Regions from separate parts of the Homo sapiens genome. Here all the other regions are linked to region 1. The links are contacts of gene promoters, found by promoter capture Hi-C in blood cells and fetal thymus (Javierre and others, 2016). All regions are on one chromosome and are shown on one strand. Each heading gives the region's core, a stretch centred on a gene start or on the middle of the fragment in contact. The rest is flanking DNA. Distances are from core to core; before and after follow the strand shown. Region 1 holds the start of CCDC170 (coiled-coil domain containing 170). Region 2 overlaps SYNE1 (spectrin repeat containing nuclear envelope protein 1). Region 3 overlaps SYNE1 (spectrin repeat containing nuclear envelope protein 1). Region 4 overlaps SYNE1 (spectrin repeat containing nuclear envelope protein 1). Region 5 overlaps SYNE1 (spectrin repeat containing nuclear envelope protein 1). Region 6 overlaps MTHFD1L (methylenetetrahydrofolate dehydrogenase (NADP+ dependent) 1 like).

What was found. The method cuts DNA at HindIII sites, captures the fragments that hold promoters and counts their contacts. A CHiCAGO score of 5 or more calls a contact.
Region 2: a contact is called between a fragment that was not itself captured here and the fragment with the promoter of CCDC170 in region 1, in 1 of 17 cell types (M0 macrophages). The highest score is 5.0, in M0 macrophages.
Region 3: a contact is called between a fragment that was not itself captured here and the fragment with the promoter of CCDC170 in region 1, in 3 of 17 cell types (M0 macrophages, monocytes and M1 macrophages). The highest score is 5.7, in M0 macrophages.
Region 4: a contact is called between a fragment that was not itself captured here and the fragment with the promoter of CCDC170 in region 1, in 1 of 17 cell types (erythroblasts). The highest score is 7.9, in erythroblasts.
Region 5: a fragment that was not itself captured here is called in contact with the fragment with the promoter of CCDC170 in region 1 in 1 of 17 cell types (M0 macrophages); the score reaches 6.6 in M0 macrophages.
Region 6: a contact is called between a fragment that was not itself captured here and the fragment with the promoter of CCDC170 in region 1, in 1 of 17 cell types (total CD8 T cells). The highest score is 5.3, in total CD8 T cells.

What each region holds. Positions count from the first base shown.
Region 1 is chr6:151,492,251-151,495,938 of GRCh38, reverse strand. CCDC170 (coiled-coil domain containing 170) reads right to left here and starts at 1,922. Exons shown (of 11, transcript NM_025059.4): 1 at 1,754-1,922. The coding sequence starts at 1,810. The HindIII fragment of the contact is 3,463 bases long and covers 1-2,784 here.
Region 2 is chr6:152,316,851-152,320,538 of GRCh38, reverse strand. It overlaps SYNE1 (spectrin repeat containing nuclear envelope protein 1), which reads left to right. Exons shown (of 146, transcript NM_182961.4): 85 at 1,524-1,676; 86 at 2,276-2,458; 87 at 3,553-3,688. Among named protein-coding and RNA genes, the nearest start is that of SYNE1-AS1, 62 kb to the left of the region's middle. The HindIII fragment of the contact is 2,676 bases long and covers 712-3,387 here.
Region 3 is chr6:152,297,359-152,301,046 of GRCh38, reverse strand. It overlaps SYNE1 (spectrin repeat containing nuclear envelope protein 1), which reads left to right. Exons shown (of 146, transcript NM_182961.4): 93 at 266-406. Among named protein-coding and RNA genes, the nearest start is that of SYNE1-AS1, 81 kb to the left of the region's middle. The HindIII fragment of the contact is 944 bases long and covers 1,059-2,002 here.
Region 4 is chr6:152,275,233-152,278,920 of GRCh38, reverse strand. It overlaps SYNE1 (spectrin repeat containing nuclear envelope protein 1), which reads left to right. Exons shown (of 146, transcript NM_182961.4): 98 at 641-832. Among named protein-coding and RNA genes, the nearest start is that of SYNE1-AS1, 100 kb to the left of the region's middle. The HindIII fragment of the contact is 7,041 bases long and covers 1-3,688 here.
Region 5 is chr6:152,123,735-152,127,422 of GRCh38, reverse strand. All of the region lies in intron 145 of SYNE1 (spectrin repeat containing nuclear envelope protein 1), which reads left to right. It also overlaps a transcript of ESR1 not described here. Among named protein-coding and RNA genes, the nearest start is that of SYNE1-AS1, 250 kb to the left of the region's middle. The HindIII fragment of the contact is 4,815 bases long and covers 1-3,688 here.
Region 6 is chr6:150,898,849-150,902,536 of GRCh38, reverse strand. The region is part of intron 7 of MTHFD1L (methylenetetrahydrofolate dehydrogenase (NADP+ dependent) 1 like); the gene reads right to left. Among named protein-coding and RNA genes, the nearest start is that of MTHFD1L, 35 kb to the right of the region's middle. The HindIII fragment of the contact is 3,392 bases long and covers 95-3,486 here.

The DNA of each region.
Region 1 (3,688 bases), core at 673-3,172:
AGTTTTAGTAGGTCGTGTATATTAGATAATATTATTGTCACAATGCTAAACATCCCGATTTTGATCATTGTATGTTCGTTAGAGAATGCCCTTATTCATAGGAGATAACACACCAGAGTATTTACAGATGAAAGGTCATAGGGGACCAGGCATGGTAGTGCATCTCTGTAATCCCAGCACTTTGGGAGTCTGAGGCAGGTGGATCGCTTGAGCTCAGGAGTTTGAGACCAGCCTGAGCAACACGATAAAACTCTGCCTCTGCAAAGAACACAAAAATTATCCAGGCATCATGGCATGCCTGGAGTCCCAGCTACTCTGGAGGCTGAGGTGAGAGGATCGTTTGAACCCAGGGGTGTCAAGGCGGCGGCGAGCCGAGATCGTGCCACTGCACTCGAGCCTGGGTAACAAGGTGAGACCCTGTCTGAAAAAAAGAAGAAAGAAAGAAAAGGAGGGAGGGAGAGAACAAGAGAAAAAAAGGAGAGAGAAAGAAAGAATCATGATGGCTGTAATTTACTCTCAATGGGCTCACCAAAAAAAATATATATTAATAATATAAAAATACCACATACTTATGTATGGTTAAGACACCACATTGGGATAAAAATTAATAAAGTCAAATATGAAAATGTCAGATGAAAGAAAAAACATCTAGTAACTGGCCTCTGAGTTAGAAAGAAAGAAAAAATAGTTTTATTTGCACACAGTGGTACTTATTTTCCACAAATATTCCAGGAATCAGAGAAATCTAAATACAGGTCAGATGTAAAACAACAATCAAAGCTGCTGAATATTAGAAGAATTCCGATGGCACGTTGGAGAATCCAACTCATGTTTTGAATCCACTACATCCCCCAGGGATATCTATGGTCAGTACACAGCGTGGTAGGAAAAGTCCAAAACTTTGGAAAGAAAGAAAAATCCTCCATCATTTACTAATTGGGTGAGTTACTTGCGGTTAGCAGTTGAGCTGAACACAATTCCCCCATCTCTGGCAACTACTCCCAATACACACGATACCCGGTGGGCCCCGATGCCAAGGCCAAAGGGGGATTCTTAACCCAGACTGAGCCAGCCAGATCTTCTTGTGCGCCCAAGTATGCATATGCCCGTGTTCGTGTGTGTGCGCGCCCGTGTTTGTTCGCGTATGTGCCTGTTCGCGTGTGTGCACGAGCGTCTGTGTATGCGCGCATGTTCGTGTGTGTGTGCGCGCGCGCATTGGTACATCTAATACCTGAAAGTCCCCAGTACCTAAGTAACTCCTGGGAGTAAATGAGTAGATGCATTCAGGAACAACTGAATTACCAACGTTTCTGGATTACTTCGCAACGAAAGGGCCGGTGACTCTACTCCGGGCTGGCCCTCCTCCTGCCACATCAGATTTTCCAGAAATTGCTCCGAAGCACACTTCAGTAGCTAAGCAGGGAAAGTTAAATGAAGGAATTCTTTGCTCCCAGGGGTGGCGGGGAGGAACTGCCCGGCCACAGTCTTTCGAATGTCACCGGTTTAAATGGTCAGAGAAGCAGAGTGGCACAACCTAAAATTCAGACGCGCTCCGCAAACTCCGGTCCTGCCCATCCCCTCCTGAAATCAGCGCCCTGGCAGTCCCAGGCCACAGCCCTCGCGGGCACAGAGCTGCTCTGATTCTGCCCACGCCTCCGGGAGGAAAAGGGTGCAAATCAGGGGCGCCTCGGCCCCTCCTGGGTCGTCTATCCCCAGGGCCACCCCCGCGCGCGGCCGGCGGCTGGGACCGTACCTCGGGCGCTGGCGAAGCGGCACCCAGCGCGATATGGCTGGTGCAGTCCAGGCTCATGACGACCCGAGCCCGGGGGCGCGCTCGGACCCGGAACCGGCCCTGAGGAAGCGGCGGCGCCGGGAGCCGGCGGGTGGCGCGGGTGTCTCCTCGGGCAACGGGTAAACACCGCGGGGACGCGGCGGCGCGCGGCTGCGCGCGAGTAGGGTGGCCCGGCCGCAGGAGGCCGGGGTGGACCCCGAACCCCCGAGCGTGGCCTCCGTGGCGAGGGCCTGCAACTGAGCGGCCGAAACTGCCAGGGCGACCTGGGGGGAGTCGGCGGGGATAACGGTCGGTCCTCCCGGTGGGACTCTGCAGTGAATGCAATTCCAGGCCTCATCCTTATGTCAGCGATAAATACAGCCAGTGGGCACTGTGAACGGTGCTGGCGCGAGTGAGGCATAGGAAACTTCACAAGGGTGAACGGAGCATTTATTTAGCACACACTGTGTGCAAATGTGTCTGCGAGCGTGCAACCTGTGCAGGTCCGGGTCCTGCGCTTGGTTTAATACTCAGCTGTCCCAGTCTTGACGTTTTTAGGAAGTTTTGAACAAGGTGTCCTGCATTTTCATTCTGTACCGGGGTCCACAAATTATGTAGCCTGCCCTGGTGTGCGTTCTTTCATTTCACCTTCTCAACAACCCTGCCTGGAAGTACGGGTACTAGTAATACCAGTGTTAGTAACAGCCACAGCTGCTCATTATGAAATACTCGTGCTCGTCCATGCACTGTTCTAAGTGCTTCCCACGTATGATCAATCTCCTTAAATGAAACAAGATTATGAAGTGGATGTTAGAATAATCCATCTGCAAGACAAGGCAACAGTCACAGGGAAATAAAATAAAATTTCCAAGATGTACAGGGTAAGTGGTAGAATGAAGATCAGGCTCCAGATCATAACACTAAAGCACAGAGAAGATGAGTAACTTGTTTAAGGTCCCACAATTTGTAGCAGAATCTGAAAATGGAATCTGCATTCACCTCACTTTAAAGCTTTTGGTGGGCCAGGCGCGGTGGCTCACTCCTGTAATCCCAACACTTTTGGGAGGCTGAGATGGGTGGATCACTTGAGGTCAGGAGTTTGAGACCAGCCTGGCCAAGAAGGTGAAACCCTGTCTCTACTAAAAATACAAAAATTAGCCGGGCGTGGTAGCGGACACCTGTAATACAGCTATTTGAGAGGCTGAGGCAGGGAAAATCATTTGAACCTGGGAGGCAGAGGTTGCAGTGAGCCAAGATTGAGCCACTGCACTCCAGCCTGGGTGACAGAGCAAGAATCTGCCTCAAAAAAAAAAAAAAAAAAAAAGAAAAAAGCCTTTAGTAGACTCCTATGCTGTTTGAGACACATGAAATCAAACAGGTGGGAGGATTGCTTGAGGCCAGGAGTTTGAGACCAGCCTGGGCAATACAGCAAGACTCTATCTCTACAAGTTTTTTTTTTTTTTTTTTAAATTAGCCAGGCATGGTGGTGCACACCTGTAGTCCTAGCTACTCAGAAGGCTAAGGCGGGGCCAGGTGAGGTGGCTCATACCTATAATCCCAGTACTTTGGGAGGCTGAGGCAGGTGGATCACCTGAGGTCAGGAGTTCGAGACCAGCCTGGCCAACATAGTGAAACCCTGTCTCTACTAAAAATACAAAAATTAGCTAGGTGTGGTGGCACATGCCTGTAATCCCAGCTACTTGGGAGGCTGAGGCAGGAGAATCGCTTGAACCTGGGAGGCGGAGGTTGCAATAAGCTGAGATAGCACCACTGTACTCCAGCCTGGGTGACAGAGCAAGACGCCATCTTAAAAAAAAAAAAAAAAAAGAAAGCTAAAGCAGGAGGATAGCTTTGAGCCCAGGAGGTCAAGGCTGCAGTGAGCTATGATCACCACTGCACTCCAGCCTGGGCGACAGA
Region 2 (3,688 bases), core at 800-3,299, 820 kb before region 1:
AATATAATAGATTTTTCGGACTCTCTTGGTGGCTTAATGCTAAAGCTATTAAAGTTTAATGAAAACCCTTCTATATGAGACAAAGAGAAGACATACTACAATTCTAAATTGCTACATGAAATAGAAAGTAATATCCCATTGTACAAACTGTAAAACTCATACAGTTGTGCTCTACTTTTGGAATCTTCAATGTATGATGCAAAGTGTTTTAAAAATCTCATCAAAATCTGATCCTACTGCATCATGACTTTGACCTAAACTACTGATAAATGCTCTTTACTATTTTAAGTATTTAATTGATATATTTGGCTTTTCTTCTTAGACATTGGAAGATCTACTGGGAAGGATGACTTGGCAAGTTCATGGTCTTTTTATATTTTTGAGACAGAGTCTCGCTCTGTCCCCCAGGCTGGAGTGCAGTGAAACAATCTCAGCTTACTGCAACCTCCTGGGTTTAAGCAGTTCTCGTGCCTCAGCCTCCCAAGTAGCTGGGATTCCAGGCATGCACCACCATACCCGGCTAATTTTTTGTATTTTTAGTAAAAAGAGACAAGGTTTTGCCATGTTGGCCAGCCTGGTCTCAAACTCCTGGCCTCAAGTGAGCTGCCTGCCTCAGCCTCCCAAAGTGCTGGGATTACAGGTGTGCACCTCTGTGCACAGCCATGGTTTTTCTTTGTTTGTTTGTTTGTTTTTTTAGTTAAAATTTAAGCTTTTCTCTGGATTAATTTTCCTATCATAGCCTTATTCATATGTATTTCATTTACTTTGACACTCAAAATAATGAAGGCCAAAACACACCATTAACTCTCTTTTAATGGTGTGTTTTCTCCCTACTAAAGAGGTTTTTTTAAAGACCTTTAACTACATAAAGAAATGTTTCTTCTCTTTAATGTCTTTTCTTCGGCATTTTATTCTAAGCAACAGTGTGAATGTTTGTTATCAAATCAAACCAAAGTCACTGGAAATTTGTAAATGCGAACTGTCTTTTTTCACCTTCCTTTCCATTGGATGTACTTAATGCTTGGTTGGCATACTATAGAGCTGTAGTCGGAAAGTTACAAAAAGAGTTAACAGATCATTAAGAGTCATTTATTAAAAGGTGCTTGGAAACAAATCAGTGTGCTTCCAACTGTTTGGGAGGATTTTCCATCTTATGAAGAAAAAGGCTTAGAGGAGTTTGTGTGCTCAAGGTCATTACGTTAGTTAATGGAGAAGATAGGATTCAAACTCAGCTGTCTACACAACCATCTATAATGAGTATTCTGTAAATATTTAATAAGTGAATTTCTCTACACACATTGCTTGTATCTTTGCTGGAACACAAGGAGTGCAGTAAATACTTAAAGATAGTGAAGTCAGGGAAAGCCAGGAGGGCTTGTAACTAATCGCACATCGCTGGTGTGACCAGGTGTTTCAATGCCAAAGCAGTTAAAATGTGTCTTGTCAACATCATTTGAGATTTTTAGTATCTATTATTCACTTTTAACCATGGCTTGTTTTGCTGTTCTTACTGATTTTTTTAGATCCAAGACAAAATAAAAGAAGTTGAGCAGAGCAAGGCCACGAGCCAGGAACTCAGCCGGCAAATTCAGAAGTTAGCTAAAGACCTCACAACTATTCTAACTAAGCTGAAAGCGAAGACAGATAATGTAGTTCAAGCTAAAACTGACCAAAAGGTAAGAAGTAGAATTTTAAAGGGTACTACTGAATGAATTAAATAGTTTTTGGAGTCAGTTTTACTTGGGGATATAGGATAAAAACCTTTTAGGAACCTTTTTTAAAACCAAATAGTAACAGCAGGTGGTAAAGAAATTTTGTAACTGAAGCAACACAGATCCTCTTACATAATTGATCATTATAATTGAACAGTATTAATAAATATACATGCATGAGTGTGTACGAAAGAAGAGCGTCAAAGGACTAAGTGATGATTTAGGAATACAAGTATATAAATTCCAAACTGAATTGTGTCCTTGGTAGCTAAATCTGTGTTCTTCCTCTGTTGATGAGTTCAGGGACTCTAATCCTTTTTGGGTGGGGCAGAAGGAAAATGTTAGCCTTCTCACTCAGCCTCATAGGAAATAAACACCAGCATTACAACATATCCTGCCCTGCCTTTCCAACCGAAGAAACAAAAATGACCTGATCATAGTAGAATTATAGTAGAATTATTCATTATAATATTTGGCTTTGACAAAAATCAGTCTGATCTCGGGAAACCTGGAGAAATTTATTTTCTGTACTCTAATGTTCTTTCATTTTGGTGACCATCAAGGTGCTGGGAGAGGAATTAGATGGCTGTAATTCAAAGTTAATGGAATTAGATGCAGCAGTACAGAAATTCTTGGAACAGAATGGCCAACTGGGTAAGCCACTGGCCAAGAAGATAGGAAAACTGACTGAACTTCACCAGCAGACCATTAGACAAGCTGAGAATCGGCTCTCCAAGCTCAATCAGGTATGTGTTCCGGGCCAGAAATCCAAATCGTGTAAGGCAGAAACTTCCATGTTCTGCTTTTCTCTTTTGAAAATAAATTAACATAAATAAAAAGATAAAATGGACAATGAGAGAGTAGTTTAGGTGTAGCTTATTTCATGCTACACTTGTGATCCTAAGACTTAGGTATAAACCAGCACTTACTTTATATCCAGCCATATGATAAAGTCACTGACAAAGGTGGTCCTACAAATGGACTTTGGAGTGAATATTTTGTAAAATGGAGAAGTATTTTGTAGAATGAATATTCACCCATTAACGTGTTTTATGAAATCAGTTTGGGGTGAATTCAAGTACCTTTAAGTAAGCTACATATATATCAGCTTACGTTGACTTAATAGATTCAGATTGCACGTCTGTAATAATTGTTGCATATAGACTAGACTTTTGAAATCGATTAATATAATCAGGGACAAGTTAAAACCAGGAGTTGGTAACCCATTAATTATAGTTTGAAACTTTGCCTGCTAGAATCCCCACTTGCCACCTCCTTACCCAGGGGAGGGTGAAGGAAGGGATAGAGGAAGGCCTGGCATGGTGGCTCATACCTATAATCCTAGTACTTTGGGAGGCTGAGGCAGAAGGATCACTTGAGCCTAGGAGTTTGAGACCAGCCTGGGCAACATGGTGAAACCTACAAAAGATTCAAAAATTTAACAGGGCATGGTTGGCACGTGCCTGTGGTCCCAGCTACGTGGGAGGCTGAGGTGGGAGGCTGAGCCCGTAAGATTGAGGCTGTAATTAACCATGATCCAGCTGCTGCATTCCAGCCGGGGTGACAGTAAGACCTTGGAAAAAAAAAAAAAAGAAAAAAGAAAAAAGAAAGAAAAAGAGGAATAATTCAATCATATTAAGAACTTGAGCTTTATCCTAAGGTCACTGAGAAAGCTTTGACAGATTTTAACAGGGAAACGATCTTTTGATACCATTGAATATCATAGGTATTATAATGATCAACCCCTAAGACTGTTGTGTCCAAAGAGAGAGAAGACTGATTTATAGCTCAAGAAACTGAGGAGTTTACATTTGTTACATTAATGTTACTGGTTTTTCAGGCAGCATCACATTTAGAAGAATACAATGAAATGCTTGAATTAATTTTGAAGTGGATTGAAAAAGCTAAAGTCTTGGCTCATGGAACTATTGCATGGAATTCTGCAAGCCAGCTTCGGGAACAATATATTTTGCATC
Region 3 (3,688 bases), core at 281-2,780, 810 kb before region 1:
AAAATAATGAAGTATTTAATCAACAACAAAACTTCAATGTCATATGCACCCCCATCCCTGATTGTTTTACAAATGATTACTAGCATCATATTCTCTTGAAGACAGAACTTTTAAATACTAACACAGGATTAATATGTGAATTCGGGTCCCAGTAATTTTAACCTTCGTTTTATAATTAACTCTGTTTTGGCCTGTGCCTGAACAGGACTTATGTTAACATAGCTAATTGATTTTCATGTCCTTTGGGCTACATTTTACGTGGCAGATGACTGCAGGTCGCTGTCACACTTTGCTGTCACCGGTCACTGAGGAGTCTGGGGAGGAGGGAACCAACAGTGAGATTTCCTCTCCACCTGCCTGTCGCTCCCCTTCACCTGTGGCTAATACAGATGCTTCTGTTAACCAGGTACCTCCCAGTTGGCATTCCTCTAGCAATAATCTCTGGGCAGATGCAGGACTCCATTCTCTGTTTCCATTAGATCGTGGGTATGAATCTCAGACTTTGTTGCATTTGGTTCCAGGGACACACTATTAGGTGTTATAGTTGCACAAACTATGATTGTCATGTGTCTCAGTATGTCATCTCCTCTCCTGGGCTACAGAAAGTGGGATGAACAAAAATTAGGTCATGGGAATGATAGCCCAGAAGGCTCTGTTTTAAGACATTATGGCCTTAGTTTCCAGCAATCATCTGGAATGGGGTTCTGCATCCAACAGAAAATAAAAGATGTGTGTCACCATTGTAAAATAACGTGATTCGATGGCTTTATAACATGCATTGAAAATAGTGCTGGCATTTACCAGCTCAGATTTTGAAGACAGGAAACTTCCATTTATTATGTCAGACTTCTTCTTTATTTGCAACTTGTGTACCAATGTAAGGAATGTCTGCCATATTTATACTAGAATGCCTACTAGATTTGAGTGTTTAACTTATCTTTCAATAATCTTAAATTTTATTTTCTATAAAATGGGGAAAATAAAATAACCATTTAGTTATAAGAAGCCTTTTACCATGTATTAAATGTAGATAATACTAAATTAAATGTCAAAAAGCTTTTATGTCAAATGTTAGATAGAAATCAAAAATATGCCTTTATAGTAACCAAAGACTTTTAATGCATGTTAAGTAATACTTTATTTTTTAGTGAAGACAACTAAAAAATGTAAACTATTCTATGAAATTACATTTTTTCAAAGAAGTTGATATGTATTATTAAGGGAGAAGCATTAAACAGAGCAAATGTTTTATAACCTGTATTATAATTCAATTATATTACTTTTATTTTAAAGCAGAAGCATTCAGACTGTCATAGGATTTCTGTGATAAAGAGAATCCCCCCTCATTAAAAAAAAAAAGGAACATCAAGGTGATGAAACCTTTAGTTAATACACTTACACTGTTCTCTTGGTAAAAATCAGGATAGCTCTAGGGAAATTATCAACTCATCCATTTGTCAAGTACATTCTGACACCTGCTCAGCGTGAAACCTTGTGTTGGTTCCTGAGGATGCAGCTGAGAAGGAGTCAGCATGGCCCTACCTGCAAGGCCCTGACAGTCTAGAGAGAAAGGCAGACATGGGACAGATAATAACAATGTGATCAGAGGAAACTAAAAACAGCAACATAAAAGGAGAAGTTCAGGGAGCCGTGGGGAATTTGGGAAAGTGTTTTTCAAATTCTCATTTTAAAATATGTATTACTCATTCTTTGATGATTTGTCCTTCCCTATGGTTACAGATGTTATTACAGAAATTAAGCTATAGTCGGCTGATTATTATATAGAAAAAATTGTTCTATTTAATATGGTTTAGGTTCTCAAATTTTTCAAACTGAATAATAAATACTTATTTGAGACTTTGTGGAAAAAATATACCTTTTCTAAAACTGTAAATCTCCATGCTACTTCTTGTAAAGTGTCAAAGGATACATGAAAGTGCCCTAAAAATGATGAAACATGCAAATATTTCTATTATTATTTCTTGACATTAACCACAAAGCTTCATCAGGTCCTAAAACTCAGTGAGATTAGGCTTTGTTTTAATTCTTCCCCTCTCCCCTAGTCACAGGAAAACATCAATTAAATTGCATTGTTAATCTAAAATACTTACATGTGATGCTGCAAAGTAGGGGAAAATGCCTTTACTTAGATTAAGACACACAGCTTTACTCTGAGGGAGCTGTTAAAAAGGAAATGTATTATGCTTGGTGTTCATCAAACAAATCAACCCCATCATTACGGCCACATGTTATTTTTGTATAGTAATGTCAGTTAGAAGACAATGAAAAAATATGACACCATGACCGGTGATGCACTGGATTTATAAAATTGTCTCTTGAAACTGAGGAGGACATGTAGGATCCCCTTAAGTTTCAGTTTTCAGATTAAAAACCCTGAGTTTTGTGCACAGAATGTGTACAGCTGTTTCAGGGAGCAGCCAAATAGAACTGCTTTATAAAATCACAGTTGTTAAAAAAAAAAAAGGTTTTGTGCCTGCTGTTCCTGCAAGTAGATCTCCGTTATATAACTACCTGGTCCCACTCACAGTGTATTCTGTCTCTGACAGTAGCTATTAGCTAAAATGTAATAACAGTTTAGCTTACTTGAAGGTAGAAATACCGAGGCATTCCTAGATTTTGCTGTAGGCTTCTTGATTCCCCTTAGAAGCAAGCCAAGGCTTAGACTCTGCAGAAGAGTTGAGGGAGGAATACATTTGAAAAGAGGGAGCAAGAGTGTAATGGGAAAATCATTGGCCTTCAAGTTAAAAGCTCACACTGAGTTGCAGCTCTTTCTCCTCTAAGCTGAGTGCACCTGGGAAGTCCCTTGATACCCTCATTTGTAAGTGAGAAGCAATACTACTTAATTCACAGCATTGTGAAAATGAAATGTGACATGAATCGTGAAAGTGCTTTTTAAACTAGAAAATACTGATCAAATAGTAGCTACAGTTGTCCAAATTTATTTCCTTAGGAATCTACTCATAAGTCTTATAACTTAGGCACATAAGCAATGAGAAACGTATTTGTAACAGTGACTCCTCACTACATCAAGTATTGACTTTAGTAGTTATTTATAGTACTGAGTGATTTATTTTAATTCAATTTATGTATGTACCTCAAATAAATAGAAATTATTCATCTATAAAAGGTGACATATTTTCAAATCCTTTTAAGAAACCAGGAGTTGTCATTCATATCTGTAGGCATGAGCCACGTGCGCGCGCACACACACACACACACACACACACACACACACACACACACAGAGTGAGACTGCCAGAAAAAAATTATTTGTAATAAATTTATTTTATTCTAGCTCTTTTGGGAGCCTTCTGTATTTATAATAGAGTATCTAATGTAAAATGTTTACACCATTTAAAGGCATTCCTGCTTTTCCTTATGGACAGTAATAGTATTACTTTACATGTATATAAAATAATAGAATTTATATAAGTGCATTTACAAGCATGATTTATTATGAACATATAGGCCTGCCTGTTATTTGCCAAACACTCCACAATGTGCTCAGGATGAAGACGAAAAGCAGTGACCCAGACAGCCCTTAGGGAGCTTACAGTGTGTGTGAGGACAGGCAAATGCTTACAAGAGAAGGTGGCAGGTAGTGTGGCCGAGGGCAGTACAGTGTTGTGGGAGGGCCTAGAGAAGGCACCTAAACTGGCTGGAGTCA
Region 4 (3,688 bases), core at 857-3,356, 780 kb before region 1:
TGTCACATGTCTGTGATCCCAGCTACATGGGAGGCTCAGGCAAGGGGATCCCTTGAACCCAGTAGATGGAGGCCGCAGTGAGCCATGTTCATGCCAAAGCACTCCAGCCTGGGCAACAGAACAAGACCCTCCCTCAAAAAAAAACAAAAACAAAAAAGGGCCAGGTGCAGTGGCTCTCACTCCTGTAATCCCAGCACTTTGGGAGGCCGAGGTGGGCGGATCATGAGGTCAGGAGATCTAGACCATCCTAGCTAACACGGTGAAACCCCGTCTCTACTAAAAAACAAAACAGTAGCCGGGCATAGTGGTGGGCGCCTGTAGTCCCAGCTGCTCGGGAGGCTGAGGCAGGAGAATGGCGTGAACCTGGGAGGCGGAGCTTGCAGTGAGTCAAGATCGCTCCACTAAACTCCAGCCTGGGCGACAGAGTGAGATTCTGTCTAAAAAAATAAAAATAAATTAAAAAATATAAAAAAAAAGCCTACAGACTACTTACTCGTCAAGGCCGTGGGAAAACTACAAAAAATCATGAAAGCCTGTCCGTTTCGTAAAAGACTCCAAAGGGCTGTATTTCACTGTGGGAAACAGTCTTTGCAGAGGCTGGGGAGATGTGTGAGTTTCATTCTTATTTCTGTTGCTGCAGAATATGCTGGTGGAAATAGAGCAGAAGGTGGTGGCTTTATCAGAACTGTCAGTCCACAATGAGAACCTGCTGCTGGAGGGCAAAGCTCACACCAAGGACGAGGCCGAGCAGCTGGCTGGAAAGCTGAGAAGGCTCAAGGGGAGCCTGCTGGAGCTGCAGAGAGCCCTGCATGATAAGCAGCTCAACATGCAGGTGAGGGTTCCAGCCGCTGGCCCACAGCTGAAAGTTGGCACACTGTTCACGTGCTCCTTCTAAGGTTTGCCAGGTAAAGGAACAGGTTGGCGGTGACGCGTACTTGTGTGTGTACCTGCTTTACGCTGACATTTTAGCATGCAGCTTTAAGTTTACACTCTTGGACTTTGGCAAACATTTGCAAATAGATTTTGTTAGGACTACTAACAACAGCTGTTCAGCGGAGTGGTGGAGGCAAAAAGCACTCTGACATGAAAGTAACAATGAGAGGAGAGGAACTGGAGAGGGAAAGTAAAGGCTACTCCAGGAGTGTTGCTGTAAAGTGGTATATAGAGGAATGAGATAAGCTATAAGGAGAAGTGGGTCAAAGAAAATTTTATCTCTTTTTTTCTTTTACATTCATCACAATTTGAGTATTTCATTTTAAGATCAGAAAAATAATAAGTTTACACGTTGATGGAAATAACTCAATAGAGGAAAAGTTGGTGAAAAAGGAATGTGGGCAGGGCGCCGTGGCTCACGCCTGTAATCCCAGCACTTTGGGAGGCCGAGACAAGCAGATCACTTGAGGTCAGGAGTTCGAGACCAGACTGGCTAACATGGTGAAACCCCATCTCTGCTAAAAATACAAAAAAAAAAAAAAATTAGCTGGGCCTTGTGGTGGACACCTGTAATCTCAGTTACTCGGGAGGCTGAGGCAGGAGAATTGCTTGAACCTGGGAGGTGGAGATTTCAGTGAGCCGAGATTATATCACTGCACTCCAGTCTGGGCGACAGAGCAAGACTCTGTCTCATAACAAAAAAAAAAAAAAAAAAAAAAAAAAGAAAAAGAAAAAGGAGTGTGATTGCAAGAACAATCTTCTTGTTGGGGAGGAAACGGATAGGATAAAAAGTACACAGGCCAGGTGCGGTGGCTCACACCTGTAATCCCAGCACTTTGGGAAGCCAAGGCTGGCAGATCATGAAGTCAGGAGATGGAGACCATCCTGGCTAACACGGTGAAACCCCGTTTCTAATAAAAATACCAAAAATTAGCCGGGCATAGTGGTGGGCGCCTGTAGTCCCAGCTACTTGGGAAGCTGAGGCAGGAGAATCTCCTGAACCTGAACCTGGGAAGCAGAGGTTACAGTGAGCTGAGATCGCACCACTGCACTCCAGCCTGGGAGACAGAGGGAGACGCCGTCTCAAAAAAAAAAAAAAAAAAAAAAAAGAGTGCAGAGTTTGGTCTTCCCTACCCTTCTTGCTAAGTAAGCCAGGGACCAAATAGTTTAGAAGCCCATTAGCTGCCCCAACCCTATAAGCATCTGATGGTATCATCTGCTCCTTCTTGTGGCCTAATCCAAACTGTGCCTTCCTTTACCATTTACACCTTTCTCCTGCAATAATGGTTGAGACCAGGCCAATCTGTTCTCCAAGTAAAATGAGGAGGGAGGGAAAGCATCTATGTTGGAATACAAATACTGGTAGGAAGTAGGACATAAATATTGTTAACGGAAACTTCATGGAAGTTCACTGTGATTGCTTCTGTTTTCTCAGTGTGAGGATGATTGTTAGGACTAACCTATGTATTTTTTTTTTCGGCTTTTTGCTGATGATATGATTATATGATATGGAAAACCAAACTTAATCAACTAAAAACTATTTAGAAGCAATGGAGAAATTTAGGAAGATGACTGGCTTATTAAAAATATGAAGTTAGGTCATTGAAAAGCATAAAAGAATCCAACAAAAAATAAAAATTAAAAAATGAAGTCAGCCGAGCACAGTGGCTCACGCCTGTATCCCCAGCAATTTGGGAGGCCAAGGCAGGTGGATCACCTGAGGTCGGGAGTTTGAGACCAGCCTGGCCAACATGGTGAAACCCCATCTCTACTAAAAATACAAAAATTAGCCGGGTGTGGTGGGGCATGCCTGTAATCCCAGCTGCTTGGGAGGCTGAGGCATGAGAACTGCTTGAACCTGGGAGGCAGAGGTTGCAGTGAGCCGAGATTGTGCCACTGTGCTCTAGCTTGGGCAACAGAGTGAAATCCTGTCTCAAAAAAAAAAAAAAAAAAAAAAGAAGTCGAGAATTTATAGTTTTTACATAGACAAAAAACAAGTTAGAGGAATAATGTAATATCCCATATAAAATTTTGAAAATGAAGAGTTTTGAGGGATTATTAGTCTTATCATATATGTGTGTGGATTTTTTTTTGTTTTTTTTTTTTTGAGACAGGGTCTTGCTCTGTCACCCAGGCTGGAGTGCAGGGACGCAATCTCAGCTCATTGCAACCTCTGCCTCCCAGTCTCAAGTAATGCTCCCACCTCAGCCTCCTGAGTAGCTGGGACTATAGGCGCGCACCACCTGCCTAGCTAATTTTTTTAATTTTTTGTAGAGATGGAGGTCTCTCAATGTTGCCCAGGCTGGTCTTCAACTCCTGAGCACAGGCAATCCACCCACCTCAGCCTCCCAAAGTGCTGAGATTATAGGCGTGAGCTACCATGCCCGGCCAGTCTAATCACATATTAAAATACAATATTACAATAATTAAAATAGTTTGGTGTTGGCGCAATAAATATGTGAACAGAAAATTAAACAATAACTATTCCAGAAAGAGATTTGGTATGTAAAGGAATTTGATAAATATTTTAGGTGGCATTACAAATCAGTGGACAAAATATGACTCACTCTGTAAATAATCACTTGAAACGTGATAAACTGTATTTTCTACCCCATATTTTACAGAAAAATGTATCACAGGTGGATCAAAGATTTCAATATAAAACTTAAGTCTGCAAGGTACTCAATGTATGATTTTTTTTTTTTAATCTTAGGATAGGGAAAACCTTTGCCAGTATACCCCAAACCCATAATTT
Region 5 (3,688 bases), core at 568-3,067, 630 kb before region 1:
ACTTAATGTGTTTCAATTATTTAGTGCTTAATTGTATACATGCTAAGCATTGTATGTGTTTTACCTCATTTAACCCTCACAAGAATCCCATGACATGGCTATATTCCCAATTTATAGACAAGGACACTGGGGATTAGAGGTGTAAAGATGTAGGATTTGAACCCAGGTCTCCCCTGACTCCAGACCCTACCCCGTTAACCGTACCACTCTGCTGAAGGGCCATTGATGGGTAGAAGCCTTTAAACAATGGTTTTAGAGCTGAGGCCACCACAGGCTGCCTCAGGTAGTTTAGGATTAGCAAGAATGTTTGGTTTGGAAAAAAAGAAGACCTGGGTCCTAACTTGATTCTGGAAACTTGTCTCCTGAACCATATATCCAGGAAACACTGGGTTTCAAAGACAAGACACATAAGGGCAGGATCAAGATCACGGACAATCTAGATGTTTCTGCAAAATAAATCTGTTACATACTGCCAGTGTTAGCCGAAAAGTAACAAAATAAATTAGAAGTTTCTTCTCATTTGGCTTTAAATGATGCATGCACGAAATTAACTCATTTTCATTTCCTTGATTATAAACAATTTTCAAAGTGAGTCATACCCTATGTGCATGGCATTCAGACTTCTCACAATTGTGTGTCCTACACACTTTCTTTTGAAGGGTGTGATTTTAGCCACTACTCCCTCCCTGCCATTCTCCTTATCCCGCAATTGTCTAGGTATTTTGGGACAGAGATGAAGCAACTCCTGGGCAGCTATTTACCTGGAAATTTGAAGGAGTGAGGGAAGTGAGAAAAATAAATAAAAATTTACTTGTAGCAAATAAGCACGTTTTTTGCTGGACAGAACTATCTGATATATCTGTATTGATGATGTTCCTTAAGGAGGCTCACACATTTAATTTTTCCTATATAAACACAATCTAAACTGGCATCCATGTATGTAATAAGACCAGAGGAGAATGACCAGTGGGTAGTCAACAAGTTGCCTTTGTTCTTTCCCTTATGAAATTTCCCAAGACTCTAGAAACTTAGGTGATTTTTAGCACAGTAGCTAAATATTAAAAATAACCCTTTCCCTGGGACCATTAGCTTCTTGATACTAAAATCGCTAGAACAAGTTCCCCCTGAAGATGAGGCAGCTTTGGGCATGTTGAAACTCTGGTAATTACCCCAAGGGGACAGGCATTTTCCCAGTGGATAGTTCGGATATTTTCAAGGGCAGCCAGCTGCACGGACAGTCACTGAATATTGTGTGTTCTCTCTGTCCCCATCTCAGCCCATGACTTCTTCCTAGCTTGGCGTTCTTCAGCATTAGAAGTCATGCACAAATTAAATTTTAATAAAAAATGCTCTGATGCTGTTAAATGTGCCATGTCCTTCAACAGACTCCAACATAGGAGTCCACATTCTGTAAATGGTGACATTTTTATCAAAAATGGGCAAGTAAATTAGTCTCTCTGGCCTTCAGTTTTCTCATTTGCAAAGATGAGGGGTGCATTAATATCCTAAAATTATTTTGGCTGTCATGATTTATGATTCAATGGTTTGCCATTTTTCTCAGGAGTGAACAGGTCAATGGGCAGCCCTTGTTTTGATCTTGATCTTTGACCTAATTGCACAAAGAATTTAACAGTTGACAAACAGGAGCTATTCAGCTCTGTCAGATTGTACTATCAATTATATATGTAAATCTTCCCATCACTAAAGTTCTTAAATGTCTCCTAATGAAAATTAGTCAGGTATTTAATAACTAGGAATTGTGGGAGCTCTCTTCAGTCACTCTGTTATAACTCATCTAGCTACAGGTGTTGAGTGTTGGTTGCCAGGGCATATTTTAAAGTCAGGGGAAGGATGTTTTGAAGAAAATTTGATCCAAAGTTTGTGGGTAGCTATCCTATCCTTCTTAAGACACTTTAAGGCAAACCATTGAATCATTGCAAATGAGAAAACTGAAGGCCAGAGAGACTAATTTACTTGCCCATGGTCATGTAACTGCCTCAAAACAAAATGTCCCCACGTCCACACACGGATTTGATGATCTGCAGGATACTGTGAGGCCTTATGACCAGAGGCTTTAGACACGAGGAAACCACTTGTTTCCAAATATTTTAGGATGCAAGTTCAGGATTCTCTTCTTTGCTTCTACATGTGAGATACCTGTGAAATGAATACGACCTGAATTACCATTACCATTATTCCTATCACCAACCAGCAAAACATTTCACAGCAGAGAGTGCGGTGGGCAGGGATTTTGGAAGCCTGAGTCCCTGCTAGGCCTCTTCCTTTAACTGTAGAATCTGAAGCAAGTCATTCAGCCTGTCTAGAGTCTCCAGGTTCTGGTAGTTAAAATCACAGGGTTGAAATCTTCTGCCACTGGCTGTGTGAGCTTGAGCCAGTTATTTCACTTCCCTGAGCTTTCTTTCACATCATCTGTAAAATGAAGTTAATAAGTACACACCGCAGAGGACTGCTGTGGGGATTAAATGACAGAACCCAACATAAATGCTCAGAGTGCTGCCTAGCAATTAGAAGAGTAAACATGAACTGTCCTTAGCTACTCCCCTACAAAATTAGGAGATGAACTGGATGCTCTCTAAGGCCCTGTCTCAACATGAATATTTTATGCTCAGGTAACTCAAGAAGTTTCTATTTTCCTTTTCCATTAATAAGGTATATGACATACTTCTTTTATGTTCTACTATATTTTCACAAAATATACTTTTTTTTTCCCTCAGCTTATTAGGAATAACTCATTGGTCTTAGCACAAGGGCAGTTAATCAGTTTGACCACTAGATGGTGATTGAGCTCTTGTGGCTTCTTGGGAGATTATTTATACTGACAAATCAGTAGAAGACAAAAACATCGAACAGTAAACTTTAAAGTTAGAAGACCATCTATGCTAATTTGAAGAGGTTAGTGAAGAGGTTGACACCTAGAGATGAAGTGAGTTGTTCAAGGTTACATTACCCTGCCGTTACTTGTGTGGATTTCAGAAAAGAACATGCTTCCAATTTAAACCAGTGATTTGATTTTTCCTTACACCACAAGAAGTGTATAGAAACACTGCGTGCTGCCTGTTTCTTGGGGTTTCTGCAGAACCAATATCTGTTTTTGAGATAGAGTCTCGCTCTGTTGCCCAGGATGGAGTGCAGTGGTGTTCCGATCATGGCTCACTGCAGCCTCCGCCTCCCGGGTTCAAGCGATTCTCCTGCCTCAGCCTCCCAAGTGACTGGGACTACAGGCACACGCCACCAGGCCTGACTAATTTTTGTATTTTTACCATGTTGGCCAGGCTGGCTTGAACTCCTGGCCTCAAGTGATCCGCCAACCTCAGCCTCCCAAAGCGCTGGGATTACAGGCGGGAGCCACTGTGCCCAGCCCTCTCCCATTTTTCTTTGATGGTTTAATAAAAGAGTTTTGAATACTCCCTCTGTTCCCTTCTAAGGGGATTCTATCTGTTTTTAACATTTATTTTCTTAGGTGTCACTCCGCATCCCCCACCGATATTAGGGTAGTCTGTCTTCAGAAATTAATAGGTAATAGGTGAGCTACAAACATAGTGCTTTCTTCTGGACCAAACCTACAGTTACCAATACAGCTTTCACACGCTCATATTATTTCAGTAGCCTCACATACAATGTCCTTATCCTTGGTGATATTAAAACTCTTAAGGAATTTATACTAGTT
Region 6 (3,688 bases), core at 541-3,040, 590 kb after region 1:
GGGAAGATTTTAATGAGCTAAAATTCAAGGAAAATTATCATCTCACTTGTTCCTATTTTCCTCCTCCCAAATGGGAGAGACCCTGGCCAAAGCTTGGCTTAAAACTCTATCTCATAACAAATTATTGCTTTCTCTGCTGAGACTTGAGTGGAGCAGCTTAAAGCAAACCACCCCACTCCCCAGGCAGACAAGTGAATTTTAAACAACAGTAAGACACAGATATGCAGACACTTAACAGGGAGCGTGTGGGGGTGCAGTAGTTTAGATAACATGAAGACGAATTTTCTCAAAGTCATGAATTTTTAAGCTGGAGGGACAAGCATCTGAATATAAAGAGATGGGGGAAAGGGAGGACAGATGAGATTTGGAAAGTTATACAGAATATTATAATTTTGTATTTAGCAAATAAAATGCATTAAAATGTTTTAAACTAAATACAGCGCTACCCTCTTGACTAGAAGACAGTATGTATCTTCTGCTATCAATGTGTTTTGAAACAGTTCATATCATATGAGAATCTGAGGTATGAGATCTGTATATATTTCAAAATCCAGAATGGGTAAAAAAAAAAAGATATTTTCTAAAGAATTGTGGTTTATATCACTTGAGACCTATGAAAACTGTTTCTATGTCCTTCAAATGTTACCAACACAGTTCAGAAAACCAAGTTAAATTCCTCATGAGGGTCAGCTGAATAAAAAAGAAAGAAAACAATGTTCAAAATGATGAACATTACTTTAAAAAATTAACAGGTAGGTTCTTTGTCCAGCAAGGATGTGCTTCTGAAATTACAATAACTAAAGACATTGGCATTCTCAACTAGTGCCTGAGTGATGGCCAGTCAATGGTCAGACACAGAGAACAGAGCAGGGTCTGGAGGGCAGGGAGGGGGCTCTACCACACTGAGGTGGTCCCTTGCTTGATTTTCACTCTCAATGAACTGGGACACACTGTAGTTTATGTAGTTTATGTGCGCCCAGTTAAGTGGCTTTATGGGTTACATTATGCTCCACGGCAGATTCTTCACAAGGCTTTATTTAATTAATTTATTTATTTTTGGAGACGGGGTCTCACTCTGTCCTCTAGGCTGGAATGCAGTGGCACTGCAGTCTCAGCTCACTGCAGCCCTGACTTCTGGGCTTAAGCGATCCTCCTACCTCAGCCTCTAAGTAGCTGGGACTATAGATGTGCTTCACCATGCTCAGTTCATTTTGTTTTTTAAATATTTTTTGTAGAGACAGGGTTTCACCATGTTGCCCAGGCTGGTCTTGAATTCCTGGGCTCAAGTGATCTGCCCGCCTGGGCCTTCCAAAGTGTTGGGATTACAGGCGTGAGCCACTGTGCCACATGCTTTATGATCAGACAGGGCATGTCCATGAAAATCTTAGGTAGTAAGGGGACTCCTAGACTACCTTGTGGCAAAGTTTCTATAAAGAGTTAGATGTCACTTTTCTAAGAAAAACATCACTTTTCTCAGATGTCAAAATGTGTGCACTTTTTCTTTTCTTTTCTTTTTTTTTTTTGAGACGAGTCTCACTCTGTCGTCCAGGCTGGAGTGCAGTGGCGCGATCCCGGCTCACTGCAAGCTCCGCCTCCTGGGTTCATGCCATTCTCCTGCCTCAGCCTCCCGAGTAGCTGGGACTACAGGCACCTGCCACCATGCCCGGCTAATTTTTTGTATTTTCAGTAGAGACAGGGTTTCACCATGTTATCCAGGATGGTCTCGATCTCCTGACCTCGTGATCTGCCCGCCTCAGCCTCCCAAAGAGCTGGGATTACAGGCGTGAGCCACCGCGCCCGGCCGCACTTTTTCTTAATATAGAAAAGAAGCTGTCAGGTTGGGCTACAGTATGTGGCTCACACAGTCAGATGTGTTTTAGGAAGATTCCTCTGGAAGCTGGATTGAGAATGCCTTAGAAGGGGTAGGAGGAAAAGCAAGATACTGAGATCTCCTGGAGGAGGCGTCTGCAGGAAGCTGGGGGCCCGGGTCTGGAACTGAGAATGGCCTGGGAGCATGCGGATGCGGGTCGGGACACACAGCATTTAGGTGATGGTTAAAACCAGAAGTGTGGATTCCCCAGGGGAAACTGGCAGAATGGGAAGGAAAGCAGGTTAACAGACATCCTTGGGGAGCACTAATCTTAAATGGTTAGAGATAACGAACAGATGATGGAGACCACCATGTCCTGGTGGCTCAGGAGCTACGAAGGGCAGGAAGGGGCATTTTCATTCAGGCTAAGGGAAAAGGGTGTGGCCAACAGGTTTATATGACAGCTGTGGTCAAGCAAGATAAAAGCAAAAAATACACTTTTGGCAATTAGGAACTACCGGTGACTCACTTTTGGCAATTAGGAACTACTGGTGACTTTGCTACAGAAATGGGCATTAGGAACCATGCCTAATACAGTCCTGCCATTACTGTAGACTGTGTTGCCTGCAAATGGAGATTTCATTCAGGCAGACTGTTTCATAAGCAGATGCCTTGTTTATTCATTTATATATATAAAAATATAAATATATAATATATAATATAATATAAAAAATATATATATATCTATTTTTTTTTGAGATGGAATCTCACTCTGTGGCCCAGGCTGGAGTGCAGTGGTGCAATCTCAGCTCGCTGCAACCTCTGCCTCCTGGGTTCAACGATTCTCCTGTCTCAGCCTCCTGAGTAGCTAGGATTACAGGCGCATGCCACCACACCCAGCTAATTTTTGTATTTTTAGTAGAGATGGAGTTTCCCCATGTTGGTCAGGCTGGTCTCACACTCCTGACCTCATGATCCGCCTGCCTCGGCCTCCCAAAGTGCTGGGATTACAGGCGTGAGCCACTGCACCCAGCCTATGCATTAATTTTTTTTAACTCTGAATGTCTAACTTTGTATTTGAAATTAAATGAACATTGATCATAAGAGTATTGCTTTGTAGCTATGAATCTGTATCTACCTTTCCCCTGCAGTATTAAAACATATCATTAAATAGGAATGTTAAAATAATAGTATAACTACTCTAAACTAAGAACATCAAACCATCTTCATTCAGATGTTGTCGTACTTTGGCAAGATAAGGGGATGACAATTGCAGCAAAAGGTATTTTACCCACTTCACGTCCACCCAGTGATCTCATCCTGGGAGAATTTTTTTCCTTTCAGGAATTGGGTGTGTTTCTTTTATTTCTACTCTCATCTGTGATTAGTAGAACAAATTATTGGCTTTTAAAATTTGAAGACATTTCTTATGATTATTTCATAAATCAAAATGACTACAAGCCAAATGGACATCTGGGAATTAGGATTACAGCATTTTTCTACCAAACTTTTCCCCTGAAAAATAATAAATGACCTTCCTTTTTCTAAATGTTCCTAAGTTCACCTCTGACTTCACCATTCAACTTAATTTACTGCTCAACATATGAGAAGAAAATATCAAAGATATTTAGTTGTGTCCAAAATGCTAGAAAAGACAATTCCTCTGGAAGTAAGCTTCACACTTAAAAAAGTCATGACAGATGATAAAAGGAAAAATGCAGCACCATTCTGGGAATGGATATACTTTAATGACTCATCAAAAATAATTCCCTTTCACAGGAGAATCACTTCAACCTGGGAGGCAGAGCTTGCAGTGAGCCTAGATCACGCGCCTGCACTCCAGCCTGGTGACAGAACGAGACTCCGTCTGAAAAAGAA